Regions from separate parts of the Homo sapiens genome. Here region 1 is linked to region 2. The links are contacts of gene promoters, found by promoter capture Hi-C in blood cells and fetal thymus (Javierre and others, 2016). All regions are on one chromosome and are shown on one strand. Each heading gives the region's core, a stretch centred on a gene start or on the middle of the fragment in contact. The rest is flanking DNA. Distances are from core to core; before and after follow the strand shown. Region 1 has its middle 160 kb from the start of LINC02839. Region 2 holds the start of RALYL (RALY RNA binding protein like).

Region 1 (7,010 bases), core at 2,212-4,711, 1.9 Mb before region 2:
AAATCACCTGGGGATCTTGTTAAACTACAGATTCCATTTCACTACTTCTGGGGCAAGGGCTGAGAGTCAGAATTTCCTAGAAGTTCCTAGGTGATATTGACATTGGCTCACACTTTTGAGTAGCAAGAACTTGGTTAACTCTAACTTTGAAGTTTATTGTCTTTTTGAGTTTTTTTTTTTTTTCCCACAAAATAAAGTGGTTGGACTCAATGGTGTACAGAGAACTTCTTCAATCTTAAAATGTTTTGAATTGTGTAACCCCTCAATACCTCTACTAAAGGTATATCAAACTATATATATCATTTGGTGATTTTGTTTGTTTAAATGTACTTAAAAAGATAAGTTGGTCCCATGCCTTTTGATGCCCCAGATAAAATTTGAATCACAGTTAAGGAAATATTTGGAATTTATGATATGTTTTCTTTTCATAATGAAACTACAAACCATAACTTCCTATTAAAGAAACATACTAAGATAATAATTGAATAACTGTACAGCAAATGCTTTGTAAATATATATGGTCTTTGTTTTTTTATTATTTTTTCTTTTTAAATTATACTTAAAGTTCTGGGGTACATGTGCAGAATGTGCAGGTTTGTTACATAGGTATACATGTGCCATGGTGGTTTGCTGCACCCATCAACCCATCATCTACATTAGGTATTTCTCCTAATGCTATCCCTCCCCTAGCCCCCAACCCCCAGACAGGCGCCAGTGTGTGATAGTCCCCTCCTGGTGTTCATGTGTTCTCATTGTTCAACTCCCACTTATGCATGAGAACATGTGGTGTTTGTTTTTCTGTTCTTGTGTTAGTTTGCTGAGAATGATGGTTTCCAGCTTCATCCATGTCCCTGCAAAGGACATGAACTCATTTTTTTTGTGGCTGCATAGTATTTCATGACGTGTATGTGACACATTTTCTTTATCCAGTCTATCATTGATGGGCATTTGGGTTGGTTCCAAGTCTTTGCTGTTGTGAACAGTGCCACAATAAACATATGTGTGCATGTATCTTTATAGAAGAATGATTTTTAATCTTTTGGGTATATACCCAGTAAGGTAATTGCTGGGTCAAATGGTATTTCTGGGTCTAGATCCTTGAAGAATTGCCACACTGTCGTCCACAATGGTTGAACTAATTTACACTCCCACCAACTGTGTAAAAGTGTTCCTTTTTCACCACATCCTCTCCAGCATCTGTTGTTTCCTGACTTTTTAATGATCACCATTCTAACTGGCAAAAGAAACTATCATCAGAGTGAACAGGCAACCTACAGAATGGGAGAAAATTTTTGCAATCTATCCATCTGACAAAGGGCTAATATCCAGAATCTACAAAGAACATAATGAAATTCACAAGAAAAAAAAAACTACCCCATCAAAATTGAGTGAAGGGTATGAACAGACACTTCTCAAAAGGAGACATGCAGCCAACAAACATGAAAAAAAGCTCATCATCACTGATCATTACAGAAATGCAAATCAAAACCACAATGAGATGGTCTTTATTTTTAAGAATGTGTTACTTATGTGTGAATACATATATATAATTTAAAACTACATATATACACAAACTATATATATTTGATATATGTATAAGTATTTTGCTTTTTTACTTTTAAATGTCTTCTTATGAAAAGTTTGCAAACATAAACATGCAAAATGAACCTATATAACAATCGCCTAACTAAATATTCACAAATTTATTAATTTTGCTTTGTTTACTCCTTGTTTACACTGCTAGCTAATTTTTAGAAGGGTTAGATCACTTTAAATAAATGCCAGTTGACATATAATTTATGAATATTATTTTAATTCATGTATTACTACATTATAACCTTTTTTCAAAGACTGCTCATTCAAGACTGCATTTCATTTGTGTGAATAATTCTGTAAACAACATTGATTAAAAGCAGTGATGGGCTGGTAAATGTTTACCAGCTGACTCTGAAACAAAACAAAAACAAAACAAAACCCATTTGTTTGTGACAGTTACCAATTTCTGTGTGTAAATACTCCCATCACTATCAATTTGGCATCACTAAACATCGATTTGAAAAGAGAGGCTAACAACAGTTCCCCTGAGCCAGTACAAGCTGGCTTCAGCACAGCACTGTATCAATCTGCTTATTTAATTACATGGTTTGGACATAGAAATGTATATTTCCCTCTGTAACTCAAATATTAAAGTCCTGGGTCATTCTGAATGTGGAATAAATATCTCCTGTAAATATTTTAATTTATATTAGCAAGTTAACGAAGTGTTTCTATCAAGTGCCTGTGTGGGAGGAGTAGAATATGTTGAGTAATGATTTCTTAATTAAATTAAACAATGCCATATATTTCTACATGACATCTTGTACCAGTGGACACTCAATAAAAATTAGTTCAATGAGAAAAATGATATATTACAAAATATAAATGAAGTTAGAATTATGCAAAAATATATATTATTGCTCACACATAATCAAGGCCAGAGAATTGGATATTTTATTTAAAATAGCATTTTAAAACTATATAGGTGATTTATATTCAAAACTTAAAATGCCTGAGGCTGTTCTGTTTTCCGGCATGTGAGTCATCTAAAATCAGGAGATGGAAATTCAGGGGGTATGATGTTAAATAATGCATGAGTGATATAATCTTATTGTGTATCTCATTAGTAAAATGCTACAGGAAACTAATTTTTTTTAAAGGAAAGCTTTCTTTTCTTAGACACCATTTTTCAGCATCATCACATTTAAAGAGTCAATTTTCAGACAACCTGATGGGAAATCATATGAAGTTATAATGCAGTACAGACAGTTGATATTGTGTAGATCAAAAGGAAAATCATGAATCTCATTTCTGATTCAAGCTTTAGTCTCTTTCCCTCTCTTTATTTCCCTTCTTTTTAATCTTCTGCAACAAACAATTTTAAATCTCTTCCACCTAATAAAATGTAGATTACCACCTCTTGGGTTCAGAGTTATTAAAGGAGTTTTATTAGCTTTTGAACTACGCAGCATTCTGGTAAGGAACTGGTTATATAAATAATCATCTTTTTCTTTATCTCTTGGCTTCCACCTATAATTAATGATCTCCATCACCTTATCTTACACACAACCATTTCTTCATAAACAAATATGTGGTCTGGTGCAGATGCAGCTGAGTGTCCTAAGAAGCCAATATAGCAATCTTACCGCATTTTAAAGCCTGCAATTTCATGCCTAACACTTGGCCTTGTAACCATGGTATCTGCAGTGAGATGCTGGATCCAGAAGCATCAAACAGAAGGATTATTTCTTGGGTATGTTGTACACAGTCAAGAACTCTAAAGAGGACAAATTTTCAGAGCAAGTAAGAAGACTGTGTGTAATAAAAACATGTACGTTATTTAAAAATATTGTTTAGAGAATGTATTTGAAGCTCTTATGAGAAAAATAGTTATTAGCAAGATAGTATACCCTATATGTGATCATTAGTTGTTACAGTTTCTCTTCAAATAAAAATATATTAGCTGAATTTCCTTATGTCTCTATATTCAGAAAAAGAGGTGCCCCAAGGAGTAACTGAATTGTATTTTATCAATTTGTAAATTATGATATGCTTATGCACACATACACGTAAATGCAAACATATAAATGTATTTTTTGAAATAATATTAACCTTTTTCAGATTTCAAAGCATTTGAAAAAAAATTCCAGTATGTTAATTAGACTCTGTTGGATATTTATTTTTATTTTTTGCTGCTTAGCACATATTTCGCCTTTGTAACAGCTTTCCAGTCTACCTTTAGGAATGGTTTCCACTCATTTTGTAGAGGTTTGGTAGGGTAATTAATCTAGGTGCTCTACCTACAATTAACAGAAACCAGAGGGGTCATTACAAACTCCTTCAGCCAAATATCCCATATCAATTGCCTTGTTTTCTCCGAAATTCAACTAGGGCGAACAGTAAGATGATCTAATCTTAAGCAATAAGACTAACTCTCAGGTTATGAATATTATCTCTTACAAGAGATTGAAACATAGACCAAATTTTGTTTGTTCATTCATTTGTATCCTTTCCCAGTTTTCCTGGCTTAAAGCTTGAGACTTAATTTTTACAATAATTAAAAGACCCCTTCAATGAACTTAACTAAACCAGATGCAATCTATTCAGGAGGGAATTTTAACTACTTCCTTGGGGAGCAAAAATGTAATAATAATTTTAAAAGCTGCCTTGTGATTTAAAGTAATGCCCATCAGTTCTTCTTCTTCTTTTTTTTTTTTTTTGCTCTCTTTTGTATTATTCATGGGTGTTATAATAGAAAAGAAAAGATGGAGAATTTCTGTCGTGGATCACAGGTCTCTGTTACTGCCATCTGAAGACAATATCTGTCTGGAGACCATTTATGAAATGAGATACCCAGGAGTTATTCCAGGATGCTTTGAAACTGTATGGGGTCAGAGGCTGGGGCTGTGATAGCTGAGCCTAACCAGGCTTATGTCAATAGGTTGTTGCCTGAAATATTCTATTAGACACCATTCTCTGAATCTTCTGTAAGAACCACGATTCTAAAAAAAAAATCTTCTTTAAGAGTATTTATATTATTAATTACAGAGAAAACTTGTGGTTTTTCTTTGGTTCAGTTTTGTAAAAAAAAATGACTGAAAGTCCTGTATTCTAAGCTCTAAGCTATTATTGACTCAGACCAAGAACAAGGAATATTCTTGTTTCACCTTGGATAAGTGGCTTAACTTGGACCTTAGTTTCCTTACCTGTAATAAAACCCAGGCTAATTATCCATATAACAATATGTTTGGCCCATGAGTTAAAAAGCACTTTGCGTTTTCTAGTTAAAATGAAATATGTGGTATGTAGTAAGATTAAACAATAATATAATGATTATTAATCATTTTTGTAATTTAATTATGCAATATACATGACTAATCATTATAATTTAAAGGGTATAGTAAGCAAGTAGAATAACTATTGTTATAGTTATATATTCCAATAACTATATTGGAAGAATAGCTATATTGCAAGTATAATGGAACATCAGGTATAGGTTAAAAGGTATATATTAAAATTACTCATAAGTGTCCTGGAAATATATTAAATATTACTGAATATGCCTTTAATGCAATTAGTTTCAGAGTTTTATATGTAAAAGGCAGTCATTTCCCTCCTCTTGTAGCAAGCAAGGAAGCTTTCTCTTGTTTTCCCTATCTTCTTTTTCCAGCTGAGTGTATATTTTTGAGTGTTCTGCATGTTTTTATTCAAGTCTTCTAAAAAGGGAACAGGAAGAGATCTGAGGCTTTTGGAAGGACAGACAGGGTCAACTCTCCTGGTAGAATCTTTAATGCTAGTCCTCATTTGAGCAAGCCATTTAAATATAGGCAATTTATATCATGCTAGCATCCACTCTGTAATTGCCTGATTTCTGGATGAGTTTATCTGCATGATGTCAAAAAAGGTTAGAATTTTTTAAAATTTATTTTGGCAAAAGGGAAATAGTTAATAAGAGTTTATGATCCAGCATTCCCTATGGTTCTTGCTGCTTGATACTGGAAGAGACAATTATTAACTTTTTTTCTCTGCCATGGCACATAAGGGAAATGATATCTGCTCACTCATTTACTAATTTATTCATTTAGCAATTATATGGGTTGTGGTCATGCTTTATGTTTATCCAGTGGATGAAATCTACAATTATGAAATCTCCACAGGGCTATCATCAATGCCTTCCCTGGTAGGAAGATAAGTTCCCAGTATTCCAAACTGAATCTTGTGTTATAACTGTTGATCCTGTTTTCAGTCGAGTTCACTAAACAAAAATTATCCTGAACCTAATTTGCTGAATTAATTTTACCTAGAATATTTTTAAGCCTACTCCAGGAAACGAACTGACATTTAAACATCTTTCAATCAGAAAAGATGTTCCAGATTCCAGACAAAGGACTCAGAGTTAAACTTTGTAATGCAACTTAGCTGTAATTTAGGGTCTGGCTCTTCTAAGAAACAGACTACAGAGATCATCATATTATGACAGGAGTAATAAGAATAATGTAAGTTATATTTTCTTGCTTTACTCTCTTGAAATCCCTAACCCACATTAAGAGTAGTGTTTGATGAAAATCACTGAACCAAAAAAAAAAAAAAAAAAGAATTTGAAATGCAAGTGTCATTTGTAATGCCTTTAAGGAATTACTCCTTAATCCCATGCTTGTAAATAACTCCTGGCAACATCATTAAGAATTAAGCGTGTCTCTGGAGAAGGACTTAAGCAATCTGAGGTGACAGCACCATAGCTGGATCTGCTATTATGTATTATGCTGAATCATAGCTAGGAAGTGCATCAGAGCTGAGAATGCTGGGTAAAAACTGCAGACAATGCATCTATCTGGAGGTATTAGCATGGCTCCTTGGAGAGGTGGTCATATGCAGTGAGATGGGGAGGAAGGGAAATAGGAACTGAAAAAGGAGACGAAACAAGAGCAGATGTGGTAAAACAGAGTTGGCTGCACATCAAGAGGCAGTTGCGCAGGGCTACAAAGAATGTATTGATCTCTTAACCTGTTTCTATTCATTTTGCCATCAGGTGGTCTTAAGAGTAAAACTGTATGAAACCATTCTTTTTGTTTGATAGGGACCAGTGTGGTCACAATCACTTTTGACCTCAGGTATATCTAGGGGATTCAAAATTGCACATGCATTCATTAGGCTGGAGGGATACTTCTAAAGATGAATGTATGAGAATTGCTAAATTAGTGCTATAAACTTTACCTGCTACGGAAGCCCAGAGCAAACTGCCATCTAAGCAAGATTAACTTGCAAGCAGTGCTTAAATTGAGGCTTCAAGGAAGGATATTATTTAGGCTGCAGAGGACAATAGGCTATTCTAAAGATATGACACTGAGTAAAGTTCTGAGGTGTAATATGTAGATTGAATTTGGGAGATAATAAGGCCATCATTTTGATATACCAGAATTCCTCTGGACAAGAAACTAGTATTCCTTTTTTGGCTATATTTTGGTAATTTTTAG
Region 2 (6,740 bases), core at 241-2,740:
CGGATTAAAACTTTATTTGGCCAATGAATTCTGAGCACAATGTTTGAGGACCATATTTGCTACTGAAGCTCTGTGTGAAGGATGTGTACTTAATTTTCAGAATGTCGAGGTTAGATCATCTCTGATGGAGGCATTTTATATGAAACGTCAGCATTGGAAACATTGAGATAAAGATCGGGAGCAGGAATCTTTGAACTGCAGAATTGTGTTAATTGCTCATTCTCAAATATAGAGACGCCAATTAATTCCACACAACCTAGATTCAAAGCAGCACAGGGAAATGGTCCTGAGGTGAGTATTGTACAAAAATGAAGAAAAATAGATGTGTTCTAGCGTCCACAAAGCTGATTCTTCAACAGGCAGTAATAGAAGCCCAATGCACCCAGCGATTGGCTGATGGCATCTTTGTTCAGGCGATCGATGAGCGCCCTAACCCACACGCTGGGTGGAGAAATCCCTCTGCCACCCTCACCTTCAGAATCCACTGCTCAGCCACCTGGCTCCCGCGGGGTGCGCCACCGCCTCACTGCTGGTACACGTCTCCCCCTCTCGACCGCCAAGTGCTTGCTCCCTCCAGGCGAGCACTCACACAATGGACTCACTTGTTTCCCATGCCCCTCTCCTTTGACTTCCAGCCTCAGCGAACAACTTGAGCAAGAGTCAAACAGGAGTCTCTGCCATGGAGCATAGACCCTTGGAGCTTTCCAGACCAGCTCAGAAGCACGGGCGCACACACAGACAAAACAATGCCTTGTCCACGAATGAATAAAGGACACCCATGCCCCCACCCACCGCTCCGCAACCCGCAGAAAGAAACCCGGGACGGGGTTTCCTAAATAAGAGATTTTGTTGTGTCTTTCAAACTGCAAGCATTCCCCTTGAAGACGGCGAAAGAGAGGCTGTGCGTTCAGATGGCAATAAAGATTGACAGTGGCTTTGCCCGTGACAACGCCCCCAGCATCGCGCTGAGCCAGGTTCCCTGAGAACCGGGAGGGGGAAACGCAGATCTAGGGAGGAGGGAACAGCAGAGGCAAAGGCAGCTTGGGAGGGATGGGAAATGGAAAATCAGGGAAACAAACAAACAAACAAACAAAATGAATGAGTGAATGTGGGCTTGAATAGTAAAACTTCCAGAGAGAAGACGATGGGATCTCTCCCCAGGTAACTACCTGTAGATGAAAAATAGATGAAATACACAAGGAAGTGGCAAGCAACAACTTTGAGGTGAGCAGCAAGTTGTGCACCTCCTCTCAAGGCGCTGGATCAGCACCCCTGAGCTGCCCCCACAGCACACACTCCCAATGCGAGGCGGCGGCGGCAGCAACAGAGGCAGCAGCAGCAATCGCGGCAGCAGCGGCAGAGGCGGCGGCAGCTGCGCGCCTCGGGCCCAACCCCGCTCGGCTCCCCCTCTCGCCGGCGCCCTGCCTGTCTTGCGTGTGCGTGTGCGTGTGCTCAGCCTCAGCGTGAGGGGCACCTGCTCGTCTGGGCTCACAGCGAAGGCAGCCTCGCCGCGAGCTGCCGCTGCCGCTGCTGCCGCCACTGGTGTTGCCGCTCTCAGGCGCCAGGCTCCCCGTCGCCGCCGCCGCCGCCTCGCCAGCCAGAGTTGGGCTCCGTGGGCTTCCCCCCTCGCAGCCTCGGTCCTTCCCCGCTGCCTGCAAGTCAGCCTGGCTCCGAGTCACGTGTCAGTGCCTGAGGCAGAGACTGCGAGAAAAAAACGCGCTTCATTCCTTCTTCCACCGCCATACTGTATTTTATACTAAATCTCATTTTTATTCCAACATTTTACTCCCGCTCGGTGAGTACCTTCTCAGTGGCATTCTTGTCCTATTCTTTTTTTTGTCCTTTTTTTTGGTTTTTTGTTTTTTTTGTTTTTGTTTTTTTTCTTTTTTTCCACTTCTTTGATTATTGTTTATATTTGGGAAAGCTGGAGGAGCATGGTTTTGAGCCTTTTCCTGAATCCAAGTTTTTCTAGCATGCGATCGTTCTGTAGACAAGGCGCTGTGTCTCGGAGTCCGCGGCGACCGTGCCCGCTGGGAGCGTCTCCCAAGTCCAGCAAAATGTGCAACTGGTTTTATGGAAAAAGCGATGTGAAGTATGGTGCCTATTTTTTTCCTTTGTAAAAATAAAAAGCATGTTTCTAACTCTTTTTTTGCATACTCTTTTTCTGATAACATTTTTGTATAGGTGGGATTTTACGGCAGTGTTTACAAGTTTGTGGTCTTGCAATACTGGTGCAAACCACTGAGCAAAGACATTAATTTTATATTTTTTGTGCCCTTTTTGGAAGCCGGTGAAAACAAATTCGTTTTTTTTCCCTCCTGTTTTTGATACCCATTGATAACATGAAACTTTTCTTACAGCTGGTGATTGGGATCATTTTTAAGCAAAATACTTTTTTCCTCCTTTAAATTAACTATGACTTTTGCACATTTGACTTTTTTAAAAAACCGAGATAATTTTATGATAGATATCCTGATATCTATATCTATATTGTCCCTTATTTCTCCCCCTTCCCTCCCCGTAAATCAATTTTCAAATGATGGCAGTGGAAGGTTTTTCTGGAAAAAAAAAAATGAAGTGCGGTTTGGTTTCCTTGTCAACGGAGGATGAAGTGAACAGCTGAGCAGCTCGCAGAGAGCAGGTACTTGGTCCCCTTGGAGGCGTTTCCCGGGTGTGCAGTGGCAACACTGGTCCTAGCAAAGAAATGTGTGAGTGTGAGTGTGTGTGTGTGTCTGTGTTTGCGCGCGCGCATCTCCGGGCAGTGTCCGAGCCCGAGGTGGGGAGAGCGGCGCAGGGAGCCAGGGAAAACCAAAGTCCGTTCCCTGCTTCAGGATCGTTTTCTAGATGTGCGCAAAATACAGTCCCCTCCCCCCACCCCTCCCACGGTGAGCTGCGCCCAGGTCGTCTCCCGGCGGGGCGGGTGGCGTCTGCGCTGCGGGCCGCGCCGGCCGGGCACTAGGCGGCCGGCGGGCCCTGTAAGTTCTCCGAGGGCCACTTGCACAGCAGGAGGGGCGAGGGCCGTGTACGTGGCGCTGGCCGTCGGGCGGGCTAGAGGGGACCCTCAGAGCACCCGGGAGATGGGGGTAGAAGCGGCAGAGACCGCATATTCCGGAGGGGCTGGCTCCAGGCCACGCGAGCCGGAGCTGGAGACATTTCCAGAGCCTTGAGGATGGCACCGGCCCTCGCACGCTCAACTCCTGCTCCTCCTCTTCGCAATGAGTAAACGACGCAGTAGGTCCTACCCAGCCTATTTTGCTTTACCAAAGGGCTTTGCTTTCTTAGGGATGCTGTCTTTGGATCTTTTTTTTCCCTGTTGTGTTGCGTTGGTTTTAAGTGCCTGCTGGTGTCGTCTTCCAGGGGATGGGGAAATAGTTTCTTATAAGATGATCACTTGGGTTTAATGTTGAGGACGACGCTGTTAGTTTGCAGTAATGACCCTACACCTCTAAGGTATTAAAAAAATGCCTTTTATTTAAATTTTGTTAAAGGGGCAGAGTTTTCCCTCTTTTTAACCACCTGATACTGGCTCTAAAGGTTTTCCCCTGAGAACTGTGTACAGGGCAGGAGTGAGGGGTTGGTGATAGAGGTGATGATTTCGTGTGTTGGTAGCACTGACGTATTCAATGTTGAATGTATTCTATGATATTTTATGATTATCCTGTTACATGTTTTCAGTATAATTTAGCATTACTTTTCAGAGACGTACCAGTTGGCAATAAAAAGCCTTTTCTGTATTTAACACTGTGACCGAATCTGCTGGAAATTTTTCTGTCCAAATAAATTTCCTGAAGGCATACATCTTAAAATCTGGAGAGTCACCATTATTTAAATACTTTGATTTTGAAGCTTTGATTTTCTTACCTTTTCCCCCCTTAAATGAAAAGCTTAGCTTTAAATTACCATGTGTATATACTTTGAATTCTGTAAAATAAACATAAAGCAAATGAAACAACAACTTTTTACCTCTCAGATGAAGTTTTCTTCTAGGTAACTACAGAAATAAAAACTGACTGCAACATACAGAGGGGCCCATGACAAAGGGGTTTATAACATACACTGGCTTTTTCAAGCAAATATTTCACTGTCTGTAACCTCAGTTTGTGGAATGAAAGGTTTTACGCCTTAGTTTTTACTCTTTGTGGTCAAAAAGTAAGGCGTGCAATGGGCCATTTAACTGTAGAAGATTAAAAGTTAGTGTAATATCTGGAAAGTTGTATATATTTTTTATTCACAACTCATGCAAGTATCTCAAAAGTCTTTGGACATTTCATTGTATTTCCTGGCGGGGAAATACAATGTATGTGAGTTATTTTGTTCTCCGAGTAGCTTTTCTCTGTGAAGGAAATCCTGTTGCATTTATATAAAGAAGATAGTTTATGTCACTGTCTGTGGACACCATATTTGATATCTTGAGGTGTATAGTTCTAAGATTTGAAGCCAATATGATGGCACTAAGCCTGAAATTAGGATTTTCTTATTTTGTATAGTGAGCTAATTACTAAAATACAGTCTTTCATATGCCTCAAACAGCTAACATAAAACATTAAAAAAGCCACTTGCAACATTCTGTGATTTTAAAAATCATTTCAATTATAACAATGTATGTACATAGAAATGCTCATTTATTAAAATGCAAGACAATTTATGTGTATAATATATTTTTGTATGTTTTATGTATTGTAAGTCGTTTAGTTCTTTTAAGAGAGAGAGAGACAGAGCAAGCAAGCAAGAACTTGAATGATCGAACCTGCATTTTCATTAAGAGAATCAGTTGCTGCCCTAAGGTTGAGGTAGTATGTGGTTTAAGATTGGGCAAAGCACTAGCTGTACTGTGTGATATTTCCCAATGAGATTGAAACAATTAATGGGACCAAAGACGATTTTAATGTGAGGACAGAGAGGTAGTTGTGCTTTAATTTCTGTAACTTAAGATCATTCTAAGAACCTTTAGTTATCTATGTTTTCATTTATTTAAGATTCATTTTTAATTATATTGTAGACTTGTATTACATTTCTATCTATTACATTCAAATTTTTCAGATTTCTTCCTGTGTGAATCATTCTGGGAATTCTACAACTCTTAAACTGGCCACCTGTTTAGTTTTTGATTTAAAATTGTTGAAGGTAGTATCCTAGATTTAGCACCGCCTACTGGCTTCTCATGGAAAAAATGTATTTTTTCATTCGCCAAGCGACCCACAGGGATTTAGATCAATTTAATTGTGCAGATCTTTTCAACTGCTTACTAAGCGAGAAGGAGGGAAAAAAAAGTTTCTATTTTGTAATGAGAGAGGGTTTCCAAGGTAAAGGTGGGGACTGAGGGAAATAAGACCCACAAATTAAATTGGCATTGGATCACTATCTGACCTCAAACATTGTACTATCTAAACTGTGACAAAGAAATAATCACAAAATGAAAACCTGTTAAATTTTCAAGAACTTTTTATGGGATAATAAAATGTGGGTATTGTTTAAAATCTTGGATTACTAAATTAATTTTTCAATGTCTATCTCAGTCTTGATATAAAGAAAGAAAGTTCTAGTTGGAATTCTGTCTTGAGTGTGTGGTCTGTTGAAGAATATTTAAATGAATAACTTTTCATCATTGAAGATTAACAGTTAATTATTTTTCATATTTATTTTTTATGGTCATAATCAAGTAACACCCTGATTTTTTTCTTAACATGCATCAAATAGCCACACCGTGGTGGTGTATATACAAGGGGGAAAAGTTCCAAACATAAAATTATAAAGACACATCCTTAGCCATAATAGATGTGTTACCTTTCTTAAAAATGATAATTGGTTTATTTTCTCTAATTTATATGAAAGTCTAGTGGTTAAAAGAGCTACTATAATAATACAAATAAATGATGCCTTAAGAATATACAAATTGTTAATTAGAAAAATAATTTGATATGCTAAAATTTTCTTCCTAATTAAAAGAAATGTGAAATATTTGGATAGCTGTTCCTTAAATGCAATATTGACTTATTTTAAGAGCCAGTAGTAAGTATATAGAAATTCCAGTGAGAAGTATAGGTCTGTTGCGTTTTTGCAACTCTACCCCAGTAAAAGTGTGGTCATGTTTTGTTTACTGTTTACTGATAGTGTAAGCAACTAATTAAGCAGGGCATTCATTGATATAACTCTACATTTCAAGTCTTCAAAAAGCTCCATTATGGAAGTAGAAGAGAAGTGAAGTGGGTATGTAAGATTGTTTGAATAGTAAGGACGAATTTGAGAAAAATATTTCAATTACAATTGATTTTTCTCTCTGACTTTTGAAACTTTTATTTTTATTTTAGTTGTTTATTTTTATTTTTTCTTTCCAACTTTTAGTTTCAAGGGGTACATGTACAGTTTTGTTACATGGCTAAATTACATGTCACAGGGGTTTGCTGTACAGATAGTTTTATCGGCCATGAAATCTTTATTTTTAAATGATGATTAGCTGAGACTTTAAAAATAGTTATTTCTTTACTTCTTTTATCATACTGTCATTATGAAAACTCTGTGTTTTGCTATGAAAACCTGAAGTAATGATTAATTTTATTCTTCAAATTTTTATGGACTTCCAGAAAGTAAATAATAACATGTTTAAAAAGGTCCTTATTGATCTGCAGTTATTGTTATTATTCTCTTATTACTGTTACTATCTACTACTTCCAGTGACCTGTACGAATGCTTGTAAAGATGCCATTTCCATAATTCAGTTTGATTCTTTGATTTAATAAATT

What was found. Contacts are between HindIII fragments. The CHiCAGO score rates a contact against its expected background, and 5 or more counts as called.
Region 1: a contact is called between a fragment that was not itself captured here and the fragment with the promoter of RALYL in region 2, in 1 of 17 cell types (endothelial precursors). The highest score is 6.0, in endothelial precursors.

What each region holds. Positions count from the first base shown.
Region 1 is chr8:82,314,484-82,321,493 of GRCh38, forward strand. No RefSeq gene overlaps it. Among named protein-coding and RNA genes, the nearest start is that of LINC02839, 160 kb to the left of the region's middle. The HindIII fragment of the contact is 1,212 bases long and covers 2,856-4,067 here.
Region 2 is chr8:84,181,784-84,188,523 of GRCh38, forward strand. RALYL (RALY RNA binding protein like) reads left to right here and starts at 1,491. Exons shown (of 9, transcript NM_173848.7): 1 at 1,491-2,641. The HindIII fragment of the contact is 11,643 bases long and covers 1-3,844 here.